Regions from separate parts of the Homo sapiens genome. Here all the other regions are linked to region 1. Evidence: promoter capture Hi-C in 16 types of primary human blood cells and fetal thymus (Javierre and others, 2016). All regions are on one chromosome and are shown on one strand. Each heading gives the region's core, a stretch centred on a gene start or on the middle of the fragment in contact. The rest is flanking DNA. Distances are from core to core; before and after follow the strand shown. Region 1 holds the start of LIX1 (limb and CNS expressed 1). Region 2 overlaps CHD1 (chromodomain helicase DNA binding protein 1). Region 3 overlaps CHD1 (chromodomain helicase DNA binding protein 1). Region 4 holds the start of GPR150 (G protein-coupled receptor 150). Region 5 has its middle 92 kb from the start of CHD1.

The links. Contacts are between HindIII fragments. The CHiCAGO score rates a contact against its expected background, and 5 or more counts as called.
Region 2: a fragment that was not itself captured here is called in contact with the fragment with the promoter of LIX1 in region 1 in 2 of 17 cell types (M2 macrophages and total B cells); the score reaches 6.8 in M2 macrophages.
Region 3: a fragment that was not itself captured here is called in contact with the fragment with the promoter of LIX1 in region 1 in 2 of 17 cell types (total B cells and M1 macrophages); the score reaches 10.2 in total B cells.
Region 4: the fragment with the promoter of GPR150 here is called in contact with the fragment with the promoter of LIX1 in region 1 in 1 of 17 cell types (activated CD4 T cells); the score reaches 5.0 in activated CD4 T cells.
Region 5: a fragment that was not itself captured here is called in contact with the fragment with the promoter of LIX1 in region 1 in 1 of 17 cell types (M1 macrophages); the score reaches 7.6 in M1 macrophages.

What each region holds. Positions count from the first base shown.
Region 1 is chr5:97,140,751-97,144,052 of GRCh38, forward strand. LIX1 (limb and CNS expressed 1) reads right to left here and starts at 1,861. Exons shown (of 6, transcript NM_153234.5): 1 at 1,745-1,861. The coding sequence starts at 1,826. RefSeq lists an enhancer at 1,808-1,877. The HindIII fragment of the contact is 8,667 bases long and covers 448-3,302 here.
Region 2 is chr5:98,856,129-98,859,698 of GRCh38, forward strand. CHD1 (chromodomain helicase DNA binding protein 1) reads right to left here. Exons shown (of 36, transcript NM_001270.4): 34 at 2,836-2,887; 35 at 2,052-2,262; 36 at 1-597. The coding sequence ends at 252. Among named protein-coding and RNA genes, the nearest start is that of CHD1-DT, 71 kb to the right of the region's middle. The HindIII fragment of the contact is 664 bases long and covers 1,057-1,720 here.
Region 3 is chr5:98,871,984-98,875,688 of GRCh38, forward strand. It overlaps CHD1 (chromodomain helicase DNA binding protein 1), which reads right to left. Exons shown (of 36, transcript NM_001270.4): 25 at 3,089-3,130; 26 at 1,610-1,740; 27 at 434-572; 28 at 68-218. Among named protein-coding and RNA genes, the nearest start is that of CHD1-DT, 55 kb to the right of the region's middle. The HindIII fragment of the contact is 477 bases long and covers 1,564-2,040 here.
Region 4 is chr5:95,618,059-95,621,506 of GRCh38, forward strand. It overlaps GPR150 (G protein-coupled receptor 150), which reads left to right and starts at 2,029. Exons shown (of 1, transcript NM_199243.3): 1 at 2,029-3,448. The coding sequence starts at 2,218. RefSeq lists enhancers at 1,585-2,200, 3,397-3,448 and silencers at 2,370-2,769, 2,860-2,909, 2,927-3,221, 2,930-3,379. The HindIII fragment of the contact is 5,492 bases long and covers 1-3,448 here.
Region 5 is chr5:99,018,880-99,022,160 of GRCh38, forward strand. No RefSeq gene overlaps it. Among named protein-coding and RNA genes, the nearest start is that of CHD1, 92 kb to the left of the region's middle. The HindIII fragment of the contact is 1,499 bases long and covers 1,155-2,653 here.

The DNA.
Region 1 (3,302 bases), core at 611-3,110:
AGTCATTTTTCAGATTAGAAAAGAAGGGAGAGAATCGGCAGTTTAATATTCACGTCTATTAAGCCATGCAAGCAGTTGCCGAGTAGCAGTCCATTCTAGGGTAAACAGGCAATGCTCTCTGGTCAAATATAGGTTCTATGTTAATGAATGAAATATATAAAACAGGACACTTATTTGTTCTCCCATATAAAAGAAGTCCTGCAAAGTCCTGGATGACAGAACTTAATGTATGCTTTATTGTAATCCTTTTTCTAGTCTATCTTCTTTTCTAAACTGTAAACAATCGCAGCAATTTAGTTCAGCTAAAAAATGAGCTATACAGTTTCACATTTGAACTTATTAAGTTTTCAATGGGCCAGTGAAAAACGTCCCCCCTATTTTTTTTTTAACTGCTTCCCCTATTTAAATGCTCAGCATAAGAACCCTGGTCCTATACAATTTATCCAAAGCTTGGGCAGCCCGAGAGCCCTTTTATCCCTCACTAGTGAATCAGTTCTATTGTAGGAGAGAGACATTCTTTCCTCCCCTTTTCGCTTAAAAAACATAACAAACCTGAATAGACTCCAGGCTAGAGTAGTGGAGAGAGTGATTTTTATTAGATCTAACATAGTTATTGGCAAATGCCTAAAGACAATATTTAAAAAGAGAGCTAGAGAAAGAAAAGGCTTTCACTTTATGCCTTAAAGGACAGATTGGTTACAATTTAACATCTAAGAGGAAAAATTTATAGAATTAAATGGCCTAACATTCCTCTTTCTTCAACATACATATGAGAAATCTAAGCTAAGAGGACATCTGGAATGGAACGTTATTCAGCAATCAGAAAGCAAAAATTCAAACCATTGATGTTTTGATGGAGACAAACACAACTAGATTCACAAAGAGGAAAGCTGCAACCTATTGAAGTTAAAAAAAATTCCATATGCATTTTACCTTTTGGGCAGTTCTATTTCAGAAGCCCTTTGTAATATGAAACCCACTGTAGATAAGATACAACATGAAGATAGTCTGTTTTGCAGCAGCAGGAAATCAAATTGGTTCCAGAAACGAAGTTATATGACAAATGGTTTAATAGTATTGCTAGAATTGGAAATCTTGATTGAATTATTTTTAAATCATTAAAAAAAAGATTTTGAAATAACTTTGCCATGCTGTATAAATTGGTGATGGTGGTAGGGGGTCCACACAGGGAGTGTTGCTGAGGTTAGGAGGCATCTCATTTTATTGGCCTTTTAACTAAAGCATTATAATCTGTTATCAAAATTTAAAAGTTCAGTGGTGATTTACTGTTAATTCTGGTTTGCAACAAATATTTTCAGACAAACACGATACTTGAATTAACATAGCTAATATGTGTTGTGGAGTATTAAACAGGTTAACAAATATTGATATATTCTAGTATCATTTCCAAATTATTTTTAGGTTTAATCTCAACACCAGTCAGCTTTGCTTTACTTAAAAAGCATCAGAAAAAGTTCATTAAGTCTTAGGCAGGTCTTGGATTGTAGAAGAGACTTCTAAGTAGTTAGCAAGATGTATCACTGACAGAATAACCCAGTGCCTAATGCCTGTAGGTGAAATGAAATCGTTCTTCTGGCTGAAGTCAGGAACAAGTTAAAATATCACTTAGAACACAGCATACGACTGCAGAGATTTAGGAGAAATCTTACTTAAATAGGATGTGACTTGACGTTTAGGACTATTTTCTAAAAAGTCAAAAAACTTTTCCCCCTTCAGTACTTACAGTCTTTGAAGACTAGAGCCGGATCTCTGTGAGGCAAGACTTGGGCAATGATGTGTCTCAGAGATTCCAAGGTTCTGTCCATCTTGGGTCTGCCTGTGTGAGCCTCCTGTACAGAGTGTCCTCATGCCTGAATTCTTGCAGTCCTGGGCTGAATTTCTGCAGCTCATTGATGCACTGGATTACCAAGGAATCCCTTTTAACATCTGCCAATCAGACATTTCCCAGAATCTAAAGACCCCTCAGGGGGCCCTCTTCCCAGGCTCACTTATCTTTGTTGTATGCTGAGCTAATTAGCTCGAAAGGCTGGCTGACAGGCGGGTTCCCATTGCTTTCTTCTGTTAAACACACCCACCTACAGGCTAGCTGGGGAAGCTCGCTAAATTATGAAAACAGCTTTCCTCTCCAACCAGATTTTGTCTGAATGCTGTGCAGCTTTCTGACTTGAGTATTTCTTCTGGCCCTCCATCTTCAATTGTGTTGCCCCCAGGAATATGGAATCAGGAAGGTTATTTCTCCAGGAAATTTCCTGAATGACAAGACAGCTTCCAGCTCAGGACTGCCAGCTATATGTTAACAGTATAATCCCTATAAATCTAAATTTTCAGTGTAATTCTTCTTTGGTAAAGGAGTGCTATAAAGATTATGGGGCTGGGTGCAGTTTATCATGCCTGTAATTCCAGCACTTTGGGAGGCTGAGGCGGGCAGATCGCTTGAGCCCAAGAGTTCCAGACCAGCCTGGGCAACATGGCGAAACCCTAACTCTACAAAAAATACAAAAATTAGCTGGGTGTGGTGGTGCATGCCTGTGATCCCAGCTACTTGGAGGGCTAAGGCAGGAGGATGGTTTGAGCCTGGAAAGTCGAGGCTGCAGTGAGCCCAGATTGTGCCACTGCACTCCAGCCTTGGTGACAAAGTAAGACCCTGTCTCAATTTTTTAAAAAAATCTTTCAATAACTACCTTAAGAAACATATATGTATTTTCTCGTCCTGTTTCTTTGTTTTATTTTTCTTTTTAATAGGGTCTCATACTGTCCTCCAGGCTGGAGTGCAGTGGCGTGATCATAACTCACCGCAGCCTTGACTCAAGTGAGGGGCTTGAGCCCTGGACTCAAGCAATCTTCCCATCTCAGCACCCCAAGTAGTTGGGAGGCACACGCCACCACGCCTGGCTAATTTTTAAATTTTCTGTAGAGATGGGGTCTCACTGTGTTGCCCAGGCTGGTCTCAAACTCCTGGGCTCAAGCAATCATCCTGTCTGGGCCCCCAAAGTGCTGCGATTACAGGCGTGAGCCACTGCACCCTGCCCTGAAATTTTTAATAATTATTAAGTGAAAGGAAGTGAATTACATCAGAATTAATTAAAGTCAACCTTGGGAATGATTCACTTTGAAGGGTAAATAGGGAAACAAATGTTCCCAGGCAAGCTGTAAGACAGTCTGTCAGGTTTTACTTGCCCCTGCCCAATAGAAGTGACTAAAATTTGGGAGGGTTGTGGGGGGTAACAAGCCTTGGCTTCCAGAAGAGTGGCTCCTGAATTCAAATGCAAGGCTTAATTTAG
Region 2 (3,570 bases), core at 139-2,638, 1.7 Mb after region 1:
TTTTCCATTTCTTTAAAAAAGAAAACAAAAAAAAGTACTACAATTTTGTAGTACAGTGCAGCATAATCCTTAAATATAAAAATATTTTCTCTTCTGTTGGGATAATAGACCTTGCATCCTGGAAAGAAGTAACAATACTGCTACTGATAGAAGATCTGTTTATATCTTTCAAGTCATGTAAGGCAATTACTGTGTTGGTTTATGATATATGGCTAAAAGAAAAGTCCAGAAAGACGAAGTATCAGTTTTTGTTATGTTTTCCGACTACTCCAGGTATGCTCCGGTGTACTTTTGTGTTCAACTGAATGTTCAAATGGAGATCTGGAGCCATAAGGAGATCTCTGATCTAGTGGTGACCTAGGGCCACTGCTGGAAGCTCTGTGGTCCATTTGCCAGTCTGAGTGATACCTATAATCCCTGGAAGATTTATGGTGCGTATATTCAGAACTTGACCGGTGGTCTGAATGTAACCGATGATCTGAGTGAGAACGATGATCAGAATGAGATCTATCTTTTAAACTTCCTTCCAAATTTGACCTGTGATCTCTACTCCTGTGATCATCCAGTTTTCTGTGTTTCTCTCTGTCACTGTAATATCTAATAAAGAAAAATTGAGAATTTTAGACAAATCATGCAAATTAAAATGTTTCCAAATAAAAGATAACTAAAAAACATAAAAATACCTTAAAACATGTTTTTAATTGTATAGAAATTCAGTGTTGCATTATAAAACTTACTTAATTAACTCAAAAATCACTGGATATATCTCTTTGGAAAAACTATTTGATTCATAAAACTAAAGCGAACCATACAAAACCCCTAAAATAGCATCTAATTTCACATGGCTATTTTAGATAATTAGCTGCTTTTTATTTTACACATCATTTATATGACTGCATCTTAATTGTCTGGAAGCTGAAATTAAGATTATTACAACTATCTGAAATACTCCTGAGACCAGAGCCTTTTACCAACCTCTAAGCAGGAAAAAGTTTAAAAATGCTAGAATGCAGTCTATGCTGAAAAATTTTTCACTGGTTGCTGATGCCTATTAAAAGCTTCCTCAAGTTTGACTAGTTATATAGTAAGACTCGACACATGAATCATTACGAAATTTACTCCATACAAACATGTGACAGCTTGATAAAAAATAAATGTGGCAGTTTAATGAGAATTATTCTCTAAAATGAGTGCCTTTTCCAAACTGACACACACACAACTGTAACTATATTGCATAAGCCTGTGAAATATATACTATAAATCTGCCTTTTCCTTTTAATTATTTGACCCCTTCAAATAACAGCCATTCTACAACTGATGTGTTCATAGTGCTGACAGAGGTTCTCAAAGAAATTATTGTAATGAACACTAAAATACAAAGATGTCTTCTAATTTGTTTCTTCTACTTACTATAAAAGCATAAATACTATAAATCTCAGTTTTCAAGTTTACTTTTAGTAGTGATCATTAACTACCGAAAATACTTCTTTATCAATAAAGGAATAAAAAGTATTCTGATGTTATTACACTGAGGTTGCTTACTGTTCAAAGGCTTCAAAAAACAATAAACAAAAAACCTTCCTGGTTCCAATAATATTCCAGATTGCTGAGGTTAAGTTTTACCTCAATGAGATGTGTTCACATATATTAATTTTTCCCGACTTTTTAAAAATATGGAATGCAAAATTTCCTAAACCAAACCTGAATCACTATTATATCAAGCTTTTATCCCACTTATTATATTTTAAAGAGTATTTGAGCCAATATTCTTCAAAACGAACAATGAACCCCACGCAATTTATAATCATACAACTCCCTACATCACCTTACTACATATTTTGATCTCAATTTTATAATTCAAAATCCATTTTATAGAGAAATTCAGTTCTTAAAATATATACATTTTTCTTAATTATATACAACACCTTTATTTCACAAGATTTGTTTTGACTGCATGAAGATTGAATTGGCTGACAGGTCAAATACAGGAACATCATGATAAGGAGAAAAACATGCATAAGCAAAATTTCTAAAGTGACTGCCAAGTTTACCTGCTGTCTTGCTTGTAGTGATCCCAATCACGATGGTCTTTACCATTACTAAAAGAAGAATAGGGTCTTTTCCTGGAATCACTTTTTTTGTAAGAATCTCCCTGATGTCGGTCTTTATGATGATCATGGTACTGAGTTAAGTGTCTATCAGAGGAATAACTGTCCCTGCTGCTATCATCGTGATTTGTATTCTCTTTTAATCTTTCCACATCTGTTAGATAAGTACAACTTTTATTAATGACCTTAAAAATAATGTGGCAAAAAAAACTTAGTTGATAGATAACAAGAATTCGTTTCAACCCTTGCCAAAACAAAATCGGTTCCCAAATACAAGCAGTTAAAGCATTTAGAAATGGTGTATAAAAGCAGTACTAAGGATTAATTAAAAAAGGTTGCTTGATTCTGAAATGTCACAAAAACTAAAAAATATGGGACCTATTCCTTTCTCAGACTATACTTTTGTGACTCTGATACAGAAAGAATGCATTACTATTCCAAATTACATAAAAAAGAATATTTGTTCATTTTAACAGTCATTCTACAATTTCTAGAAACTGAGAAAAGGATGATTAAAAGGATAATAAACTAAAATGAACTACAGTTTAAGAGAATACATTTTACATAATAATGTAGGTATGTATCAGAATTACTGTATCTCCTTAATATAAAGGTACTTATAAATAAAAACAAGGTAAGAACCTTTTTTATCATTTGGTTTATTTAAAACAAAAATTTAAAAAAAATTTTTTTTAATTTATTTTCCCAATCAGTAAGGCTTACATACCTGGATTTCTAATCACGTGAGGATTCAAGTTGCTGTTTTGATCACTGTTTTGCTAAAATAAATGCACACGTGTTAAGAATCTTTAGGTGACTTCACAAACTTACAAAAAAGCACAGATAATTCTTAGAAAATACTGATAATGAAGTCTTCACACAAGATATTAGAATGTTTATGTGTGTATATATACATGTATGACATTTATAGATCTCCATTTTTAAAGCATGAACTACTTGTCCCATGACTTAAAGATATTTTTTCATTTTGAAATAAATTGACTTAACAGAAAGGTTGCAAAAATACTGAGTTCCCTTCATCTAGCTTCTCCTAATGTTAATATCTTATACAAACATAGTATAATGATCAAAACCAAATAATTAACATTGGTATAACACTATTAATTGAAGAACAGACTTCATTCAGATTTCACATTTTTCCACTAATGTTCTTTATCTGCTCGGGGATTCGATTTGGAAGCCCATATTACACTTAGTTGTCACGTCTTCCTCTGGGACAGCTCCTTAGTCTACTGCATGCTCTTAACACTTTAGAAGAGTAGCAGACAGTTATTTTATAGAATATCCGTCAAGTAGGGCTTGTCTGATATTTTCACATAATAACACATATATTTTTGGCAAGAATTCCACATAAGTGATGTACCTTTCTCAGTATCAGAGGGTTCATGATGCTGATATGTCTTAACTATTGGTGACATTAACTTTGATCACTTGTTTAAGG
Region 3 (3,705 bases), core at 552-3,051, 1.7 Mb after region 1:
AAAAGCAAGAATTAGAATAAATTAAATTCAACATGAATGGTTAACAGAATCAGAAATAGATAAATACCTTGTGTGTTAGACTGAGGTCAGGATCCATTTTAATCATTTCCCAGCTTCCATATCCATATTCATAGATGCCAATTAACAAATTGGAATCATCTTCTTTGCCCCAGTCTATATCAAAATGAGCTGCCTTTGTGTGGCATGGGATAGTATACCTGGCATCAAAGTTAATAACTAATGATAAGTTTGTAATTGCCTTAACTGAAAAATTAATTTTGAAAAACGTGAGTCATTAGAACTTCAAAATAATATGCTTTATTTCTTCCTTTTTTTTTTCAAAACTAGCCAATAACACCATAAAAATTCAGCACATTCATTTTGCAATTATTGAATAACAAAAATCTTACAATGGAGAAAATAAATCACTCACTGCTTTCTTTCTTCTGGATCAGAAGGAATGGATTTGTGCAAAGGTATTAATTCTTCTTCATGGGAGATGACTAGTTTGGCATTCACCTGTACTCCTGATATTCGGAATGTTGGACCCTTCACTTTTCCGAGTCTACCACCTTGATTTTTTTTAAAAAAACCAGTATTTTTAAAAGTATAAAACATAATTCTACAAAACACCAAGCAACTGATGCTATTACTTATGTTATTTAACAATAAGTATTCCTTATTTATATTATTAAGAGATTACTGGAAAACCTTGAACTTCATTACATATGAACAAGTGATAATAATCTTGCAGATGCAAATTCACGAAAAGTATTTCTCTAAGTGTTTTACCAATTACATAAGATGGATCAATCTACTAATACCGTCAGCCTCTAAATAAAGAATTATAGGATGATGACTCAGGGTTCACTCTGTCGCCCAGGCTGGAAGTGCAGTGGTGCAATCATTGCTCACTGCAGTCTTGACCTCCTGGGCTCAAGCAACCCTCCCACCTCAATTCACAAGTAACTGAGACTACAAGCACGCACAATCACACCCTGCTAATTTTTATGTTTTCATTTTTCTTAGAGACAGGGTCTCACAATGTTGCCCAGGCTGGTCTCAAACTCCTGGGTTCAAGCTAAACTCCCATCTCAGCCTCCAAAAGTGCTAGGATTACAGGTGTGAGCCACTATGCCTGGTCTGCTTATTAAATTTTATCTAAATAATTTTTATTCAGGTAAATGAACAGCAAAATAAGCATAATAATAAAATAATTATGTCCCAAACCAATATCATATGTGTATATTTGCATTATATTTTCCCAGTCATCTATACTAAAAAACCTATAGATACTATACATATTGTACTGTGTGTGTGTATATATACACATATATCTATGAATGTACATATGTGTGTGTATAAAACAGTAATTTCTGACCTTACCTCCCAGACAGAAAATGTCAGGGGAATTAAAAACAGATTCTACTGCCTTCGAATTGCAATTCTGTTCTCCATTTCCTATTACCCAGAATAGCTTTACTTTGTTTTATAAATAACCTTTTGAGACTGATGAATAAATAATTTAAGATATAATATCTAGCTCAATAAAGCATATTTTGAAGCTTTCATTTACTTCTCTTTTAAATCACTCTCAGTTTAATGTTACCTGTTCGTTCTGTTCCTGAAGAACTATCCTTTAATGCTTTAATGCAACCATTATGTACCAATTCTCCCAGTCGTCTAAGGTCTGTTTCTGACTTATCAACTAACTCAGCATCTCGAGCAATTGCATCTAATCTGTAACAAAATAATCCAATTTTCAGGTAAATATGTTAAATGAAGTGGTGCCATTTAAGATTAAGTTTCACTCTATTTCAAGATCTGAATATCACTCTACTGCATGCTCTATATATTCTTGTTCACATAAATGGCAGGAAACACATAAAAACCAGGACAATGTGGTAGACAAACAATTCATTTATATATTCAATAATAATGAGTTTAATTCATTATAGAGCAAATGGAAGATTATATACCAATTCTGTAAAACCTTTTAATAACTGATCAAATTTTAAGATGTTCAGAATGAAGTGGTAAAGCTTTATAATTGTAAACACAAAAGCTGAGTAAAGTTCTGTAACTTTTTATTACTGTGCACCAAATAGATATGAATGATTAATACTCAAGACATTTTTTCATCTAAAATAATTATGCAAGTATTTCATTATATTTTAAGTATGCCATCTCAAAATAAAACAAAATATATCTATTTTTGAAGGGATTTTTTAAGAGTAAAAAAATAAACTAATTTGAGTCTTTGCTGATCTATATTCAGACAGTGGGTTGGCCACAACAAAGGGCAAAGAATATCCAAATCACAATAATTACTGAGATTATCTGATAACTTCAAAAAAACTATCTTAATTTGAATTTTAATACAGTTTGTATAATAAGAGAATGAATTTGAGAAACTTAAGAAAATATCTCTACTTAGGGAAAGCAGAGCTGGTTAAAAGGCTGGGTTAGCCTTTGGGAGGCTGAGGCAGGCGGATCACCTGAATTCAGGAGTTCTAGACCAACCTGGCCAATATGGTGAAACCCCGTCTCTACTAAAAAAAAAAAAAAAAAAAAAAAAATTAGCTGGGTGTGGTGGCATGCGCCTGTAGTCCCAGCTGCTCGAGAGGCTGAAGCAGGAGGATCACATGAACCCATGAGGTGGAGGTTACAGTGAGCCAAGATCGCGCCACTGCACTCCAGCCTGGGAGACAGTGAGAGACTCCATTTAAAAAGAAAAAAAAAAAAGGCTGGGTTAGCAACTCAGCCCCTCTATGGATAAATCTGCTCGTGCTACTTTTAAGTTATTGATGAAAAATGAGATAAAGATTGTAAAAAGTGCCTTACCGTCATAAAAGTGCAATTTAAACATGTATAGATAATTTACAGGAAAGAAATTTGAGACTGGAAATTAAACACAGTATAAAAACATTTTTAAAAACAATCTGAAATTTCCCTTGTACATTAATTTTGTAAATGCCGATTAAAAGCAAATTTAACAAAGTAGCTAAACTGAATGTTAATACAAATAAATAAAGGTGACAGCATGTAACACATTCCATTATTCTATGAGAATAATAAACGTATTTACCTTTCCAGAGGACCACCAAATTTCTTATAGCTCTTGATAAACCTAAGAGAAAATAATTGTTTGGTAAATGTGAGCTTCAGTATTCACTAAAATTATACGTATTTCTGATATTTACAGATATAAGAAAATACTTGTTAGTATAAAAATTCAAGGCACTGTTATCTAAGAAGAATGAATAAACTATGCTAAAAACAAAAATGTTAAAACATTAAGATACACCAGGTAAGACAAGGTAAATTAACATCCAAGATGATGTTTAGATATCAGTATAAATAAAACAATAGAAGCTAAATTTTGTTTTAAAAATTACTTCATTATTTTCATAAGACCAAAAGAAGGTCTGAAGCTACCACAGGAAGTGTCTCCACAATAATTATCAATTATATTACACTTCCTCACATTCCAAGTGCTGATAAAAATTCACTGAATAGCTTTAATTCAGATGTGTATTACACCAACAATGCAAAATTAAAATTTTACTTAAGAAAGCTACGTAAGTGGTTAATAAATGAGGAAAAATATCCAGGTAAAGTAGAAGTCGAAATGCTTCCTCAACTAAAGACGAAAAGTACAGCAATTCAGGTGGTCATGAAAGTGCCTTTTAAAAAGACTAACAA
Region 4 (3,448 bases), core at 779-3,278, 1.5 Mb before region 1:
CACTTTGGGAGGCCAAGGTGGGCAGATTCTTGAGCCCAGGAGTTTAAAACTAGCCTGGGCAACATGGCGAAACTTAGCCTCTACAAAAAATACAAAACTTAGCTGGGTGTGGTGGTGTCTGCCTACAGTCCCAGCTAGTTGGGAGGCTGAGGTGAGAGAATCACCTGAGCCCAGGAAGTCGAGGCTGCAGTGAGCTATGATCATGCCACTTCACTCCAGCCTGGGCAACAGAGTGAGACCCTGTCTCAAAAAGGGAAAAAAAAAAAAAAAAAAGAATTTGTTGAAAATCAATGTTTTATCAGATCTTACTAAAGTTCTGTGAAATTTCACTATAGTCATTTTGAAATGCTAATATATAAGAGCATTTCAACAAATTTGAGACAAATGATAGACTATCTTGAGAAACACTGAAATGATACTGGCTAGGAAAATCACTGAATGATGAACATTGCTCAGAGAAGGCTCCCTGGAAGAAGTGCATTATAAACTGGGATGATGTGTGTGCATAGAAAAAGGCCTTGGATAAAAAGTTCTAAAGGGAGAGTATGAAAATCAAACCAGGATTTTAGATTTTCCAAGGCTATCACTCTAGCTTTCTTAAATGTCCCACCAGGAACACTTATTCCTATGTCTCCACAGAGCTTCCTTGGGCTCCTCTGGACAATACTGGCATAGTATAAAAGGAATTTTTTCTTAGGTGATGGATTTATAGTCAAGGCAGGCATTTATGCTCGAAGGTATCTGAAAAGCATCGTATATCCACTAATTCATCAACTCAACACATACCCACTGATAACTACAACCTGTCAGACCAGAGCGAGGCACCACAGAGATGATGATGAAAATAACCAAGGTTTCTGGCCAAAGGACAACAGCTTGGGAAATGGGATTCCTACAGCAGCTGGCAGGACTATCATGGAACCCACCAAATCTTCCTAGGCCATGAATCTTAAAGTTCCAAATGTTTCCTCAGATTGGGAATGTGAACCCTAGACAACACTCATACCTCCCTGGCCCCCAGGCCAGGAAGTACAGGAAATTCTACTTTCACCATGATTAACGTGGAGGGTGCATAAAAAGACAAATGGATGCTTCCAACAGGGAAACTAAAATGTGTTTGTGAGGAGACAAGGCTAAAATGAAAGCAGCAACATTTAATCTAAACCATTTCCTGTGACTTGGATTTCTTTTTTAAAAAAATTGGCCGCCTTATCACTTTCTTAGTCACCTTTTCTCTAGGCTTATTGGAGGCGTAGCCCCTCCTAGCAACTTCCCATCTGCTGGAAAACAGAATCAAGAGAATGAGGAGTGTGATGACGCATCCTTCACTGGATGAAAATATTAGGAGAAAAGCAATAAATGCACTACCATTTGCATAAAACCTATTAATGCCCTCTTCAGACTAATGAAATGAATTTTACATCACCAAGAAAGCAGCTGTGACCCACTGCTCCTAGTATTTGGAACGATCTGCAACACTGCCACTCCTAAAAGCAACATCATTGACTTTAGTACCCTCTAATTAAAATACTTTCATTCTTGGACAGAGAAGACACATCTTGATCAAAATTCAGCTAATAGGTCTCCTCTTTGCTCAAAACGCTGTTAGGTTTCTTGTGTTCCTGTTTTTCTCATGCTCGTGCAGATCCATGGCATTTCAAACCTTTAAAATAAAAACTAATGTCTTTTCTATTTTTTTCCTACTGGCAATCACATTGGGGTGGTGGGGGCGTGTGGTACAATCTCAGTCAAGAGGTCCTCTCTTGTGTGGGTGCTGGCATAACACTGGCCGTATACAATGGCCAAGCAAAGCGACATTCTGTCCTGCTGTGCTTTACACGTAAATAGAGAATGGATGAGGTTCTCAGCGCCCAGGGGTCCGCGGCTTCCGCGAGGGTAGCGTCGGGGGCCGCTGCAGAGATTGGAAGAGTACCCGCCGGGAATGGGAGGGAAGACGCGGGGAAGGTGGAGAATAGGAATCATGTGTGTTCCTCGAGTGTACAACCCACATTTGAGTGACAAATCACGAGGACAATCGACAAAAACAACTAAGCGCAAAGCCGCCCGAATCCATCTCCCTCTCTGTGCGTGTGCCTTTTCAACTAACTTTGGGAACTCGTATAGACCCAGCGTCGCTCCCCGCGCCGCCTCGCCTCCACTTTGGTTTCCCGCGTCCTGCCCGCCCTCTTCGGTGCCTCCTCTTCCTCCGGGACAAGGATGGAGGATCTCTTTAGCCCCTCAATTCTGCCGCCGGCGCCCAACATTTCCGTGCCCATCTTGCTGGGCTGGGGTCTCAACCTGACCTTGGGGCAAGGAGCCCCTGCCTCTGGGCCGCCCAGCCGCCGCGTCCGCCTGGTGTTCCTGGGGGTCATCCTGGTGGTGGCGGTGGCAGGCAACACCACAGTGCTGTGCCGCCTGTGCGGCGGCGGCGGGCCCTGGGCGGGCCCCAAGCGTCGCAAGATGGACTTCCTGCTGGTGCAGCTGGCCCTGGCGGACCTGTACGCGTGCGGGGGCACGGCGCTGTCACAGCTGGCCTGGGAACTGCTGGGCGAGCCCCGCGCGGCCACGGGGGACCTGGCGTGCCGCTTCCTGCAGCTGCTGCAGGCATCCGGGCGGGGCGCCTCGGCCCACCTCGTGGTGCTCATCGCCCTCGAGCGCCGGCGCGCGGTGCGTCTTCCGCACGGCCGGCCGCTGCCCGCGCGTGCCCTCGCCGCCCTGGGCTGGCTGCTGGCACTGCTGCTGGCGCTGCCCCCGGCCTTCGTGGTGCGCGGGGACTCCCCCTCGCCGCTGCCGCCGCCGCCGCCGCCAACGTCCCTGCAGCCAGGCGCGCCCCCGGCCGCCCGCGCCTGGCCGGGGGAGCGTCGCTGCCACGGGATCTTCGCGCCCCTGCCGCGCTGGCACCTGCAGGTCTACGCGTTCTACGAGGCCGTCGCGGGCTTCGTCGCGCCTGTTACGGTCCTGGGCGTCGCTTGCGGCCACCTACTCTCCGTCTGGTGGCGGCACCGGCCGCAGGCCCCCGCGGCTGCAGCGCCCTGGTCGGCGAGCCCAGGTCGAGCCCCTGCGCCCAGCGCGCTGCCCCGCGCCAAGGTGCAGAGCCTGAAGATGAGCCTGCTGCTGGCGCTGCTGTTCGTGGGCTGCGAGCTGCCCTACTTTGCCGCCCGGCTGGCGGCCGCGTGGTCGTCCGGGCCCGCGGGAGACTGGGAGGGAGAGGGCCTGTCGGCGGCGCTGCGCGTGGTGGCGATGGCCAACAGCGCTCTCAATCCCTTCGTCTACCTCTTCTTCCAGGCGGGCGACTGCCGGCTCCGGCGACAGCTGCGGAAGCGGCTGGGCTCTCTGTGCTGCGCGCCGCAGGGAGGCGCGGAGGACGAGGAGGGGCCCCGGGGCCACCAGGCGCTCTACCGCCAACGCTGGCCCCACCCTCATTATCACCATGCTCGGCGGGAACCGC
Region 5 (3,281 bases), core at 654-3,153, 1.9 Mb after region 1:
TCAAGCGATTCTCCTGCCTCAGCCTCCTGAGTAGCTGGAATTACAGGCACCCACGACCACTCCCAGCTAATTTTTTTTTGTGTGTGTATTTTTTAGTAGAGACAAGGTTTCACCATGTTGGCCAGGCTGTTCTAGAATTCCTGACTTCAAGTGATCTGCCCATCTCGGCCTCCCAAAGTGCTGGGATTACAGGTGTGAGCCACCGTGCCTGGCCCAGTTTTTAAAAGAGACAGTGGCAACAGAGGAAAGTAAGATGTGACTGGGCTTCTAAAAATGAATAGAATTTTTTTTAAAGAGCAAAAAGGGGAGAAATAGAAGCAGAAGAAATAATATCAACAGAAGCTTAAAATGTGGCAGTTGTATTAGTTTCCTAAGTTTGCTGTAACAACAAAAAATACTGGAGAGCTAGGTGGCTTAAAACAGTAGAAAAGTATTATCTCACAGTTTAGAAATCAGAAATCAAGGTGTTGGCCGGGCCATGCTTCCTCCGAAAGCTTCAGAAGAATCCTTCCTTGCCTCTTCCTAGCTTCTGGGTTTGCTGGCAATCTGTGGCATTCCTTTGCTTGCAGATGCGTCACTTCAATCCTCCTTCTTCACATGATGTTCTCCCTGCCTTTACATCATCTTCCTTCTGTTCGTGTCTGTCTCTGTGTCCAAATTTCCACCTTAATGACCTCATTTTAACTTGGTTACCTCTGTGAAAACTCTATTTCCAAACATGGGAAGATTCTGAGGTATTAGGGGTTAGGACTTCAACGTACGTTTATTGCAGGATACAATTGAACCCATAATATTTTATTTTTACTTTTTTTTTTTTTTAGAGATGGGATTTTATTATCTTGGCCAGGCTGGTCTCAAAACTCCTGGCCTGAAGTGAACAGCGTGCCTTGGCTTCCCAAAGTGCTGGGATTATAGGCATGAACCACTGCACCTGGCCAGAAACTTCTTATATAGCAATGATTTGAGAGTAATAGGATTAAGTTTAGAGTGAGCTACTAGGGTGGGGCATAAAGAACTTTGAATACTAGGCTGAGGAAATTAATTTTAAAAAATACAGGTAGGTGATGAAGAGCCACTGAAAATGTTCAAGAAGTAGGACTGAACTCGTGCAACTCCCTTACTCTCTTGGCAAGCTCTCACTGAAGTAACTGGAAAGCTTTATCTTTGGTTTTGTTTGTTTTTGGTAATGAAAACGTTAACTTCACTTTTAAACAGGTAAGATATGAGGAATACATGGGAGGTAGAAAGCAAATGGTGTCAAAAAGACAGAGAAAGAACACAGGAAGCAGCAGCATGGAATGGTGGAGGGAAGCCCTGCTCTCTCTAGAAGTTCTGGGCTGAATCCATACAAAACAAAACAACACAACAACAAAAAACTGGGTCATGGAGAAATCTGCAACGTTTTATGTATAAAAGGTGCCAAAAATTTCCATGAACTGGAAAGTCTATTCAAAATTTACACTGAAGACATTGTCCAGTGACTGTAACTGTGGTGACTCATCACATAAAACCTATAATGAGCTTCCTTTTCACAGACCACATGTTGGGCACTTATCCTTGATATATGGCTTTAGTATGACATCATTCTCATTTAAGAACAACTTTATTTCTGGAAAACTGTACTCTGTACAAATTATCTGTTGCCATTTTGCATGAAATCAGTGCAAAAGCCTCTCATCATAATACTAAATGCCTTCTTAAAGTTTCTGTCAGGGGCCAGGCATGGTGGCACCTGCCTGTAGTCACAGCTACTTGGGAGGCTGAGGTGAGAGGATCACTTGAGCCCAGGAGTTCCAGGCAGCAGTGAGCTATGATCATGCCACTCCACTCCAGTCTGCATGACAGAATGAGACCCTGTTTCTATAAAGAAAAACAAAGACAAAACAAAAACTCTATCAGTGCAAATCCAACCTAATTACTTAATTATATTTCCAAAGTTTGAATTCTGGAGGCAAGCACACACTTGACAGGGCAAGGTACAGAGCTTTTATAGAGGCTTGACCCTTCTCCCACATGAAATAATCAGGATTCCTGCTCTCTGCATTCATCTCTGAAGCAGTCACAGGAAGGGGACTTTGGAAAGTCAACTAGTTTTATAACTAAATCTCATTTAGATGTAGTACTTTATATATTTTTAGTGACTGGAAATACCTTATTTTTGTCTAAAAAATTTCAGAGTATTATTATTAAGTGTTTAGAAACAGGGTCTTGCTATGTTGTCAAAACTGTATTCGAACTCCTGGTCTCAAGCAATCCTTCCTCCTCAGCCCCCCAGATAGGTGGGATTACAGGTGCATGGCACGACACTCTGCTAAACATTTCAGATTTATTAGACAAGTTACAAAATATTGAGAGAAAAATACAATAAGCAAATTTTCTGATTGTGATTAATTGCTGAGATCTTATATAAGCAGGAAAACTGCTTCATATATCTCTATTCTTTGCAATGGTAATTATTTCCCTGTAGCTAAGTTTATTACAAGAAAGGAAGACGTATTCAGATACATATTTATTTGGCTGTCTGTCAGTAGGGGAAGAAGGTAAATCTGTATGAATGATGATTTAGTCTAACTTTCATATCTGCTTTCAAATTTTAATTGAACCTGAATCTAACTGTCCTCCCTCACCTCCTCCATCCTTCCCTTCAACTGAAAGCTTGAGGATAATAAATATAACTCTCTTTGTACTCCAAAGAGATAATTTCAAATTCATGGAGAAAATGGGTTAAATGGCAGGTCAGCATGGAAGAGATTAGTACATGGCTAATACCCTATGATGGTGGGACTCAGATCCAGACCAGATGTATTTCTATAAGTAATTGTGTAGAAAAAAGTCTCAGAGACGTTTTAATAGTTGGGTTCATTTATGGCAATTTAATTATTCTCTAGGTTGGCCTGGTTAATCTAGGAGCAAATCTCTTATATGGTTCAATCTAGAGTAGATCTAATCACCCTTTATTTAAAAACTATTTCTTTTATTTTTTAGTAGAGATGAGGTCTTGCTATGTTGCCCAGGCTGCTCACTCCTAGCCCAAATGATCCTCCCTCCTCAGCCTCCCAAAGTGCTGGGATTACAGGCATGAGGCACCACACCTGGCTTTCTAATCTACTCTTAAATAGCAGGATTTGCAGAACTTTCCCTCTTAAGTAGCATACTAAATGTTATTAAGAAAATAAAATCTAAAGTGGTGTTTTTTTCCCCACTGTGAATTGAAAAGGGAAGAGTAAAGCATCTCCTTTCCCCAAACAAGAGAGGAGTGGCCAGCAATTTGTTTTTAAAGG